2 separate regions of the Homo sapiens genome follow, and region 1 is linked to region 2. Evidence: promoter capture Hi-C in 16 types of primary human blood cells and fetal thymus (Javierre and others, 2016). All regions are on one chromosome and are shown on one strand. The core of a region is centred on a gene start or on the middle of the fragment in contact, and the rest is flanking DNA. Distances in the headings are between cores, read along the strand shown. Region 1 has its middle 170 kb from the start of LINC00621. Region 2 holds the start of FGF9 (fibroblast growth factor 9).

The links. The method cuts DNA at HindIII sites, captures the fragments that hold promoters and counts their contacts. A CHiCAGO score of 5 or more calls a contact.
Region 1: a contact is called between a fragment that was not itself captured here and the fragment with the promoter of FGF9 in region 2, in 4 of 17 cell types (M2 macrophages, megakaryocytes, M0 macrophages and 1 more). The highest score is 7.2, in M2 macrophages.

Annotation. Positions count from the first base shown.
Region 1 is chr13:22,745,643-22,751,622 of GRCh38, reverse strand. No RefSeq gene overlaps it. Among named protein-coding and RNA genes, the nearest start is that of LINC00621, 170 kb to the left of the region's middle. The HindIII fragment of the contact is 1,276 bases long and covers 1,871-3,146 here.
Region 2 is chr13:21,667,436-21,673,044 of GRCh38, reverse strand. It overlaps FGF9 (fibroblast growth factor 9), which reads right to left and starts at 1,972. Exons shown (of 3, transcript NM_002010.3): 1 at 856-1,972. The coding sequence starts at 1,132. RefSeq lists silencers at 1,985-2,044, 2,065-2,114, 2,895-3,154. The HindIII fragment of the contact is 3,792 bases long and covers 511-4,302 here.

The DNA of each region.
Region 1 (5,980 bases), core at 1,259-3,758, 1.1 Mb before region 2:
GAAAGGCACAGGACCAGGGAAACAGAATCGAAATCAGAACAGAAGTAAAGGAAATTCTCCTGGCAAAGGTCAAAAGAACCTTCGAGTGACTGTTGACAAAACCAGAAAAAATACCAGAGCTTTAGAATTTAAAAAACAAACAAACAAACAAACAAACAAACAAAAAAACCGCAAACAAACAATAGGCTAGGCGCGGTGGCTCACGCCTGTAATCCCAGAACTTTGGGAGGCCGAGGCGGGCGGATCACAAAGTCAGCAGATCGAGACCATCCTGGCCAACACAGTGAAACCCCGTCTCTACTAAAAATACAAAAAATTAGCCGGGCGTGGTGGCGGGCGCCTGTAGTCTCAGCTACTTGGGAGGCTGAGGCAGGAGAATGGCGTGAACCCGGGAAGCAGAGCTTGCAGTGAGCCGAGATTGCACCACTGACTCCAGCCAGGGCGACAGAGCAATACTCTGCTCAAAAAAAAAAAAAAAAAAAATAAAAAAAAATAACAGTAGTCTTACGAATTTGCAATTCAACAATTACTGAGGACCTAATATCATCAATGGGCTGGATATAAGATGTTTTTACCTAGCAATACGTTTTTACTTATTCAATTATTTAAAGAATTTCTAGGACGATGCTACTACCCTAGTTTTGTTGATTTTTTCTTCCGTGCTCACAGTATTTTAACACTATAGGAATTAGTATTAAAGACTTTGGTTGTATTTTCATATTACATTTCTATCATGGATTTCTTAAAATCATATAATGAGAAAATGAAGTAAGATAATTACTTAGTGTAAATTTGGAAATAAGGCCCTATGCTTTTTTGTGTGTAGCTTCAGTAACTACCACTTAGGAGCTTTTTTTGTGTTCTCTTCTATTTTTTAAATGTTCCTGTGATGTAAGTGATTTGGGGAGAGATATTTCTGTTAAAAAAATGAACTCAAGCCTCTTGAGACCATGAAGCTGGAACTCAGTTAGAGGGGACAGTGACAGATGTAAAGAATCCAATCATGTCTAAGGCAACACTGTCTACTCTTCCAGTATTTCGAAGGTTGGAATTATCACACTGATTTTCCTCTCACATTTGTTCATGTTGACTTTTCTATGACAACACCATATTTAAATTGAAAAATAATGCAGCTCATACTACATAAATGGGCATCTTTGATTGGCTTTAATAATCACTTGACTCAGAAGTATGCGTGCTCCATGTAGTACTCCGGACACTAGAGAGTCACTTAGTACAGTGCTAAAGTTAATTAACATGTCTATATCAAACGTGGATATTTTAAAGTCTAGAGTCCTATGCACTCTATATGAAGGAAATATTTTTCAAGATGTGACAATCTCTAAGCAGAAGTCATCAGATGTGCTGTACTTCCTAAGCAAAACCTGTAAGAAAGCAGGTTCTCAGTCCCAGAATGGAAATTTAAGTGTAAGAGTTACCAGAATTCTCTGCTAGGCTGCCAAGGATGCAGCAGTGATAATGCTTCTTTCCTCAGGCTCAAATTCTTCTCAAACTAATTCAACTCTGCCTTTCTCAGAAACAATTTTTCTTAAAAAAATTTCTTTTTAGCTACAATAAATCAAAGTAAAGTATTGTATTCATCAGTGGTCATGAAAATTCTTTACCACACTGAGAAAGTGGCATGGATTTTTTTCATTCGTGTATTTATTAATCTGTACCTATACATTCCTTCTCTGATGAGATGATGACCATCTTGCATTTTCAAAATAACTACAGAGAGCTTTTTGGCATTAGGATGAGGTTGTTGGCTCATTAAAAATACTCCCTGGGCTCCATCATAGCTTCTGCAGTGAAAGGTAGGAGTAGCTGAATTCTTGAGTCTCTTCCTATGCTGGAATTCAATGAAGCTTCATATGAGAGATAGGATATGGGAACTAACACTATCTTAATGTCACAAAACAATTCCAAGAAAGTTGAATTTTTTTTTACAAAAGCATTTGACACTAGGTATTTTGGTCAGGCCACAGAATCAGATCAACTGTTTTTTTTTTGTTTTTGTTGTTTTCCATTTTCTTATTTTTTTTCCTTTTAAAAAAGGTCTTGATACCAAGGAAACTATCAGCTCTCCTTATGAAAACAGAACACAAAAATTAGATAAATTCACATTAGCTTCCTATTGTTTGAGTCATACTTTGACTATCAGTTCTAAGTCACACCCACTTTGGAAGTCTAGGCAGACATTTTAAAAAGGGGAGATTTTTGCTACATTAAGTAAGACTAAAGATATTCATCTCTGTTCACTAACTGTCTAGACGTGGGAAACATCTGGGAAATACACCAGAATTTTAATATAAATTTCCTTCCGTGCTTCTCTTGGGCCATTCTCAGGAAACTGCTTTACTGCTGGTCTCTGTGATAAAAATCCTTGTACTCACAACTCCTTTCTTATGTGCTCATCAGCTCCTTCCTTTTATCTTCCTGGTAAGTGCGAAAGGGAAAGAATCACCTTTTCTCAAACTAATGATCTGTGCAAATGTTTTCTTTTTTTCAATGAACTTTTGCATATAATCTGAGTAACACAGTGTATTGGTCTGTTCTCACGCTGCTATGAAGAAATACTCGAGACTGGGTGATTTATAAAGGAAAAAGATTTAATTGACTCACAGCTCCACATTGCTGGGAAGGCCTCAGGAAACTTACAATCATGGTGGAAGGGGAAGCAACATGTCCTTCTTACAAGGCAGCAGGAGAGAGAAATGCCAAGCCAAGGGGTAAAATCCCCTTATAAAACAATCAACTCTAGTGAGAATTCAATCACTATCAAGAGAACAGCATGAGGGTAACTGCCCCCATGATTCAATTACGTTCCACTGGGCCCTACCCACTACATGTGGGGATTATGGGAACTACAATTCAAGATGAGATTTGGGTAGGAACACAGCCAAACCATATCACACAGGATCATCACTAATTAGTTGTTTCTTTCTAATGTAAATATCTTTAGCTGTCGCTCCTTCAGAATACACTAGTTCAAGCAAGAAAACATGTTTTCTGCCCCTAAAAATTAGTTTGATTTTGCTCTTTGGAAAGAGATTTCTGGTCTGGAATGGTGGCCTCCTTGCTTCAGCCAATCTAAATCACAACCATCCTTCTTGTTGATTTGAGTCAGACTTATCCATGAAGCTTTCCCGAGACTCTTCAGAAGTCATAGCAGTCACTATATAATTAATTGTCCCGGACAATTTGTTATGCTGTATTATTCGGTTTATGAAATGTGGCTATATCTTGTTCTATCAAATAGTTTGTAAGAAGACGGATACTGAACTGCATATAACTTTGTCTGTTCCTCAGGGTGTGGCCTGAAGGTGTTCCATACATAGGGCTCTTGCTGCGTTGTGCCAGTAGACAGGTACATTCTCCTTCAGTGTAGATTGCTGGCTCCTCATGTGGAAATTCAATACAGCAATACTGCAGTGAACCCATTGGATGGGAGAAGTACCTGAAAATCTGCATAGGATCCCTGCTTGCTACAGCTGATGGTATAGCCTAAATATGTTTCATTTTTAAAGTTGACATGGCAGGATTATACTTTAAAGACATCACGATGCTTTTTCAACTTGCTTGTGAGTGATTGAATGATGCTTTATCAAATGGTTGTGAGGGAAAGTATCTGAGATCATCTGGTGAAATGGTTCCCAATATAAAATTGAGAAAAGGGATCTAAGCTACGTTGGTGCTGATGCAGTTCAGACTACTTGAAATATTAAGACTTTTTTCTTTTGGCTAAAGTTACATCAATTAAGAATGACAACAATGATTGTTTCATTCTCACAGGAAACCCTAAATAGCTAAGTAACTAGACATGCATCTACTATTGATTAACAAAAAGGTAGACATGTATCATCAGTAACAGTTGACAATAATTATTATTTCATTCTCACAAGAAACCCTAAATAGCTAGGTAACTGGACATGCATCTACTATTGATTAATAAAAAGGTAGACATGTATTATTAGTGGCAATAGTATTTTCAGCAGAAAATATACTTAAAAATAGAGCTACCAATATGGATTAGAATATGTCAAAAATTGTAGGTGTTGAAAAGTTGTCAATTACACATCAAATCCAGCTCCATTTAGGTGAGGCAGTGTTGGGGATGAGAAATCTGAAACCACCAAAAGTTAATTTTTGTGGGGCATAGGGGTGAACCTGGCAGAACTCACATCTTATAATTAGAAGTGCATTGCTTTTTAAATTTATTTTTCTGTAGACTTTCAGAAATTAACCAATGGCCTAGTGAAGATGACAGAAAGTGTTTGCAATCCTGTTAGGTGTTTAAATTGCTTAAGAATGGGGTAAAAGTCATTGTGTTGAAAGAAAATTACCAAGAACAAACTTTCATCCATGGGCTTAAAGTATAATTCATGTTAAACTATTTCTCAACATAGTGAATTATAACATTTGTCTTCATAATTATGTTTCTTTATTCTGTAGAAAAGTTAATAATTCAAAAAATCTCAAGGAAATAATTAGTGGGGAGTAAATATATCACTGATGTATTGGGACAGTGGTGTTTGGTCAGGCACAGGCTTGGTGTTAAGAGTAGATTTCTTTATGAAAGTAATGGATTTCAGGAAATAGTTGCAATCCAGCACTTTGGGAGGCTGAGGCAGGCAGATCACTTGAGGTTGGGAGTTCGAGACCAGTCTGACCAATATGGAAAACCCCATCTCTATTAAAAATACAAAATTAGCCTGGCATGGTGGTGCATGCCTGTAATGCCAGCTACTCAGAAGGCTGAGGGAGGAGAATCACTTGAACCCAGGAGGCAGAGGTTGCGGTGAGCCAAGATTGAGCCAGTGTACTCCAGCCTGGGCAACAAGAGCAAAATTCTGTCTCAAAAAAAAAAAAAAATCTACACTTTTCATTTCATTTAACTTCAAAATTGAGACCATGAGCCAGCATGCAGTTCTGTACAGTAAAATTGTTTAATCTCCATTGTCTTTCAGAGAATCCACGCTACAGCTGATAGGGTAGAAATTCATACTGAATTCTAAATATAATGCTCATGAAGTTAGATTCATCACATGAATAACTGCAAACACAAGAAAATTATTTTTTCTATTAGCACATAATGGGTTTTAACAACTTTTGGAAGGTTTCGTAATGTAATTCTGTCCCACAGTATAGAATATTGGACATAGGTGGCCGGGTGAGGTGGTTCATGCCTGTAATCCCAGCACTTTGGGAGGCCAAGACTGGCGGATCACGAGTCAGGAGATTGAGACCATCCTGGCTAACACGGTGAAACCCCATCTCTACTAAAAATACAAAAAATTAGCCGGGTGTGGTGGCGGGCCCCTGTAGTCCCAGCTACTCGGGGAGGGGGCTGAGGCAGGAGAATGGCATGAACCCAGGAGGCGGAGGTTGCGGTGAGCTGAGATTGTGCCACTGCACTCCAGCCTGGGCAACAGAGCAAGACTCTGTCTCAAAAAAAAAAAAAAAAAAAAAAAAAAAAATATATATATATATATATATATATAATGACACATGTTTAGAAAAAAGAAAAAATATTTTCTCTCTTTAGAAATTCATACCTCTACATATGCACACAGAAAATATAGATACAAGAGTGGAAACCAAATTAATGCTTCTATTTTACTTGACTTAGGGGAAATTATATTTGCATGACACTATATTAAAGTGAAACAAGAATGAGTAAATAAAAAAGTTGAAATGTCATTTCCTTTTCAAACTACAATCTGTACTTATTTCTTCAGGGAGTATTTCTCTGTTGAGTCTAAGATTAAGTTGAAAATGATTATCACAGCAAGGTCTCTGAATCACCACTAAGCATAAATACATGGAAAGGGAGCTGCAGGGCCATTTGATATTTACAGTTATCTTTTTAAAATATCACATTAACTCATAGAAGAAACATATTTTTAAAATAAAATTAAAAGTTGTGTTATTGGCGTAATATTTTAAGGAGTACTTTTGCTGGCTGGAGGATATTTTA
Region 2 (5,609 bases), core at 723-3,222:
CAGAGCCACCAGCCCTCGAGTCTGCAGCCCTCAGTGCTGAGTCACAAATACCCTCCGCTGAAAAATGAAATCCTCGGAATGCCCTTTAAAATTCGCTCGCAGCGTTTGCACGCGCGCACACACTCACACCAGAGAGCCACGCAGGAGACCTACACAGGGCTGCACACTATGGAAATTTAAAAGCAGAGGTTATCACTTGATAGCTGGAAGGACAAAAACCCCTGAGCGCCCTGCCTCTTCCCAAGTCATTTTCCCCCAAGCCTCTGCCCCTGCTTTTCACGGAGCCTAAAATATGACTTTAGTCCTCCCAACAGGACAATCCGTCAGCAACCTTCGCCTATGGGGCTTTCAGACCCTCACAGGGGAGAATAAACAATGCACTTAATATACAATTCAAGTAGTATACTTACTAGAGGAAAGGGGGAAAGGAAAAAAACCTTAATTTGGGCACAAGATACCCACTGCCTTCAAGAAACTGCATTAAGTTCTTAGTAGTTAATGATTAAAGCTTTAAACTCGTGCAATCAGTCCATTCAAAAGAAACTTCCTAAACCCGTGTATCTGATGCAAAAGAACTGGAAACTTGTATTATATTTATAAATTATGCCCCCCTTTAAATTAAAAGTAGGGGGCCTTTCAGTGTATACTTGCATCAGTGCCAGCAGCAGATCTGCAATTCCGGAGGCATTTTTTTTTCGGAGCTGGCAAGACAGAGAGAGAGAGAGACAGAGATACAGAGAAAGAGGGGAGGAGGGGAGAACCCTTCCCACGTCCCCCACCCGGCCACCACCTTCTTGGTAGTTATAATTTCAACATGTCATCTCATGGACACTAAAGGGTTAATGGTATACCTACCAAATCGGCTGTGGTCTTTCCTGGTTCCCTGGATAGTACCATTGGGGAAGATTTCTAAGTGAAATCCAGTCCTGCAGTATAGCTGCCTCCGCCTGAGAATCCCCTTTAAATGATCCAAGTCCGTGACTGCGGGTCCCCTGGGGAGCCCCCCTGCTTCGGACTGACCCAGGTGGTCACTTAACAAAACCGGGCTGTCCACCGGCAACACGGGCACATTCCCAAACGGTACCGCATCCTGCACACCGAAATAGTTCCCAACTTCACCTAAGGGAGCCATCAGAGGACTCGGCTTTTGGAGCACAAGAATAAACAATAATGATGGTGTCAACCCAGGAGATATTAGGCGAGGTATATCCAACTCCCCTCCCTTACTGCAGTTGCAGAGAGAGAGAGAAAAAAAAGGTTCTTTTCTTCAATCCATTAAATGCATAAATAAAAGTAATCTGCTGTTTCACTGGCACAGGTTCAAGGTCAAACCACTGATAGTCTAAGAAACCACCACTTTATACTCACACACTGACATATTGATAAACATATCTATGTATCTCTATAGATAGATCCCCAGCTCTTAGCAGGCAGGAAGGTCTTCATCCCATCCGACCGTAATAAGGAAAAAAAATCCGTAGTTTCTCCATTTGGTTTGAGATCAGAATGACCATAGCAACTTAAATGCCTAGGCGTTATTATAGGGATTTTTAAGATGCACGGGCTACGTCAGAATTTACGGATCCTGACTCCAGGAAGGCATGCGCTGTTTTTACTCTCTAACCGACTCTGCAGACATCAGCATGAATCCTTCAAGGGGAAAAAAAAATCTCACGTTGGTGGCGGCGACAAATCTCCCCTCCCGGTCCCCCCTCCAAAAAATGATAATAATAATAAAACAAAAAGAAGAAGAAACTTTAGGCGTCCAAAGCTAGTATCCAGGATTCTCCAGAGGCTCGGCAGATGTCCATTGGCTTAGAACGGGTGGCGAGCGGCGAGCGAGGAGAGCCGCGTCCGGGAGCTCGCGTGCCGCCCAGGCTGCCGCGAACAGGTGTTGCCGCGCCGGCTCGCGGAGCGTTGTAGCCGGGCGGAGCGCTCCTCCTGCGCAGCCCCCGCCGGCGCGCAGAGTGGCGCAGGCAGCGGCATTGGGCTGGGTTTAAGGTAGCGCCGCCGCAGCCCGGGCTCCCCGCGGTCCTAGCGCCCGGCTTACTGCCCGCGCCGCTCTGCGGCAGGCGAGGTGCGGCGCGCCAGAGCGCAGGACTTCCTGGGAGGCAGTCGAGGAGCCCTGGCTTTACAAAGAAAAGCAAATGAAAGATGCACTGCGAGAGGCGGGAGGAAGAAACCCTGAGTCTCCCGAGACTCAAAGTTCTCCTGCAGAATAGAAGCCGGTAACCTACAATCTAGCTGGCTGGCTACATTGATGGAGGGTCAGAGTGAAACTGGGAAACTAGTTTTCACTGGGGCTCTGTAACCTTGCGTTGTATTATAGAATATGACTGAGTTGAGAGAGTCGGAGGGAAGGGGAGTTGATTTAATGGACTCGGATGGCCATGGCAGTTTCTCTTCCATTCTTCGGCCACACACACAGAAGCGCAAACTATGTTTCAGGTAAGATCAACTCCTCTCCCCCGTCACACACACACACACACACACACACGCAGATGCGGCCACCGTTTCTGTTTTGTTTGGAGCGTTCTGCTGGGCATCTTTGGGTTGGGGCTATGTTTAGGTCCCGCCCCGCTGCTCGGGTCCCGGCGGCCGCAAAGCAGTCGGCAGGGGGGCGCCAGAGAACCTTCTCTGTCCCCGACTTCGACTCGGGCGCGCGTCTTCGGGAGTCTGGGTGGAGGGGAGCGCTCCAGTAGGCGTCTTCTCGCCCTCAAACCACGCTGCTTAGGACGAGCGGCGCCATCCCAAGCCGTGCATCGGCTCGGGGAAGCGAAAGGCGAGTTCTGGTGTCTCACTCCACCGTCCGAAGCCCGCCGCGGAGCTGGGAGGGCCGGGCACTGGATGCTTGCGGGGCGCCCCGGGGCTGCAGCCGCTCCTTCCTGCTCTGCCCTGCGGGGCCGCACGTGGAAGCCTGAGCTCCGTTGCGCGGGCTCGGGTTTCTGTTAGCCGCCGGCGGCCTTCGCGCCCAGCGGGAGTCAGGGACAAAGAAACCCGCCTCCGGGGGCCGCCAGGGGCCCTGCCGGGCCGGGCCCGCCAGAGAGACTGGAGGCGGCGCGCTCTGCGCCCGGGACAGCCTGCCTGCGCCCGGATCCCCAGTGGCGGCGGGCGCGGAGCGCGGCGCCCCCCAACACACACACACACACACACACACACACACACACACACACACTCGCCCACAGCCCTCCCGCGGGGCCCCCCTTCCCTCCCCCTGCTCCTCTTTGTTCACATTGTCTTAGAAACGGCCCGACTCTCGGGTCAAGATGGTGAAAGTTGCCGAGACTTGAGCGCAGCTCCACACTGCGGGGCGTGCAACTGAGAAGCAAAGTCGAAAGCAGAGACTGAACCCCTGCGGTGGGGAAGCGAATCAAAACCTGGTTATGGGGGAGAAGTCGGATCCGCCTTAGTAGTCAGCTAAAGGCTGGAGATGCATAACTGGGGCTGGCCCTACTCCGGACGGGAGGGCTTCGCCTGAAGACGAAAGGGAGCGATGAATTTGCAGATTTCGGGGGCGCTGGAGGTGCCAGCGACCTGGAGCGACCTTCCCCTGCCCTCCGGGGAGGAAGGCGTGCTCCGGCCCGGGCGAGGAGGAAGGAGAGAAGAGCGAGTGGTCCTCCCCTCTTCCTTTCCCACCCCCCCTTTGCCGCAGTCCAGGGTCATTGGGTGTCCGGGGCTGGCTCGGTGCGTCTTGCTTACGTGTTTCTGAAGCATGAGAGCCCTGCCCCGTGGTATTTACAGCAGTCACATCCGCGGTGGTACAGAGCGGGCTTTAACGTTAACTGCTCGGCGGCAGATACAAGAAGCTGGGTATTAAGTGTCACTTCTCATAAACCACCCGAGTCGCTCGCATTAATCTCCGAGGCAGCCAGCAGTGATGGGTACAGCAGGGGCGTTCCTCGACCAGTTGGGTACAGTGCGCCGGGATGGTTACTTAGTGGGGAAAAAAGCGATGGAAGAAACAGAGACAGGCCCAGAGAGACAGGGAGACGCTTCATAAGAAGAGAAACGAGCAGCACGTGGACATTGGACATTTCCAGTGAAGACAAGACTGGGACCATTTCCACCAGCTGTCTCCAACCACATTCTTTCGATCTGAATTTAGATTGTCATCCAATGAGCAAAGACCATTTCCGCTTCCGAATCCTGCAGCGTGTGACTGTCGCTTTAAAAAGCGTTGCAGCAGTGGAAGAGAGGGCGAAGTAGCTGATGGAGCACTTTCCCAGGTTGAGCAGCCTCCCCCACTTGCAGTTGGCTTGATCCACCTTTCATCCGCATCCCTAACTCCAGCTGCAAGAAGCTTTTGCTGCTTCCTCGCCACTTCACCATCAGATTTCTCTTGCTTGGTTTTGTTGGTTGATTTGGTCGGGTTGTTTTTCTTATTGTAGTAAGAGAAACAGTGTCCTTCCTTGCATTGGCCACATCACATTTTTCCTGTACTCACCCCACTCGTTAGGGCTGACATCCTCAAGGTTCCTTCACAGCTCTGGCAAAACCATGAACTCCTATGTCCAGGACTATGAGTATGTTTTACAAGTCTTCTTCAGTGAGTACATAGATGTTAGTACACAAAGAAGACTGAGGCCTTGCCTTCTAGAGACACGTGGTGTAATTGGGTTAATAACTCCTGCCTCGAAAGACTGTTGTTAGGAGTAAAAGGAAAAAAAAATGCACACGAAACAAGCAGCACACAATAGACCCTCAAGACATAGTCGCTATCATTACACTATTCCTTATATAGTTCCCCCATGGATTTCTCCCATGGGGGTATTCAGCAAATACTGTTATTGATTTTAATCCCAAAGCTCCCTGAGGCTCTGTCTTCTCAAAACGTTTTAACTCCTCGTACTTTCCTTTCTTCCCCTTTCCTGTGTTTTCTATCATCTTTGTCATCTGTCTTTTCTGTGGTCAGTTTAGTACTTAGGCCCAAATGGGAATAAATGACAAGAGAAGTAAAAGAGGGCTATGAAGAGGAATGAGCACTGGAATGGGAGTCTGCAGATCTGAAACACATCATCTGACCCTCTGCCTACTCCATGTGTGGCTACGGGCCCTCTCCTCACGGGTCCCAGCTCTTTGCTGTGAAGACTGGTTCATGTAGGTTAAAGTGGCCTGTCAGCTATAAAGTCCTCTGCAAATTTGAAGTGGCCCTTTGGAAAAAGTCCACCTTCCCCTCTTTCTTCATTAGCTTGTCTTCCTTCAGTTTCCCTGGACCCCCAGATGCAAATCAGTACAGAGTCATTTCATTCCTTCTCTGCAGTAAAGGTGTCACTGGGCCTCTGCCCTTCCATCTGTTTCCTTCGTTCTCCTCCTCCCCACCCCACAACCCTTCAATCTACTTATGGGCTTTTGTTTAGGAGCTGTAAGGAGCATGGGATGGAGGGGAATGGTTTGGGAAGGTTGAAGTCTATTCCCAGTGTGACCCCAGGAACTAGGTTTGAGTTTCATGGTAAGAGGATAGAACCTTTGTAGCCACCATTTATTGACTGCTTACTGTGTTTCCAACACCCTGCTAAGTGCTTTTGTGCTTTATCTTCTTAATATTGAAAACTGTCCTATGAGGTATTATTTTATCCCATATTATAGATGAGGAAACTGTGGCTTATAGA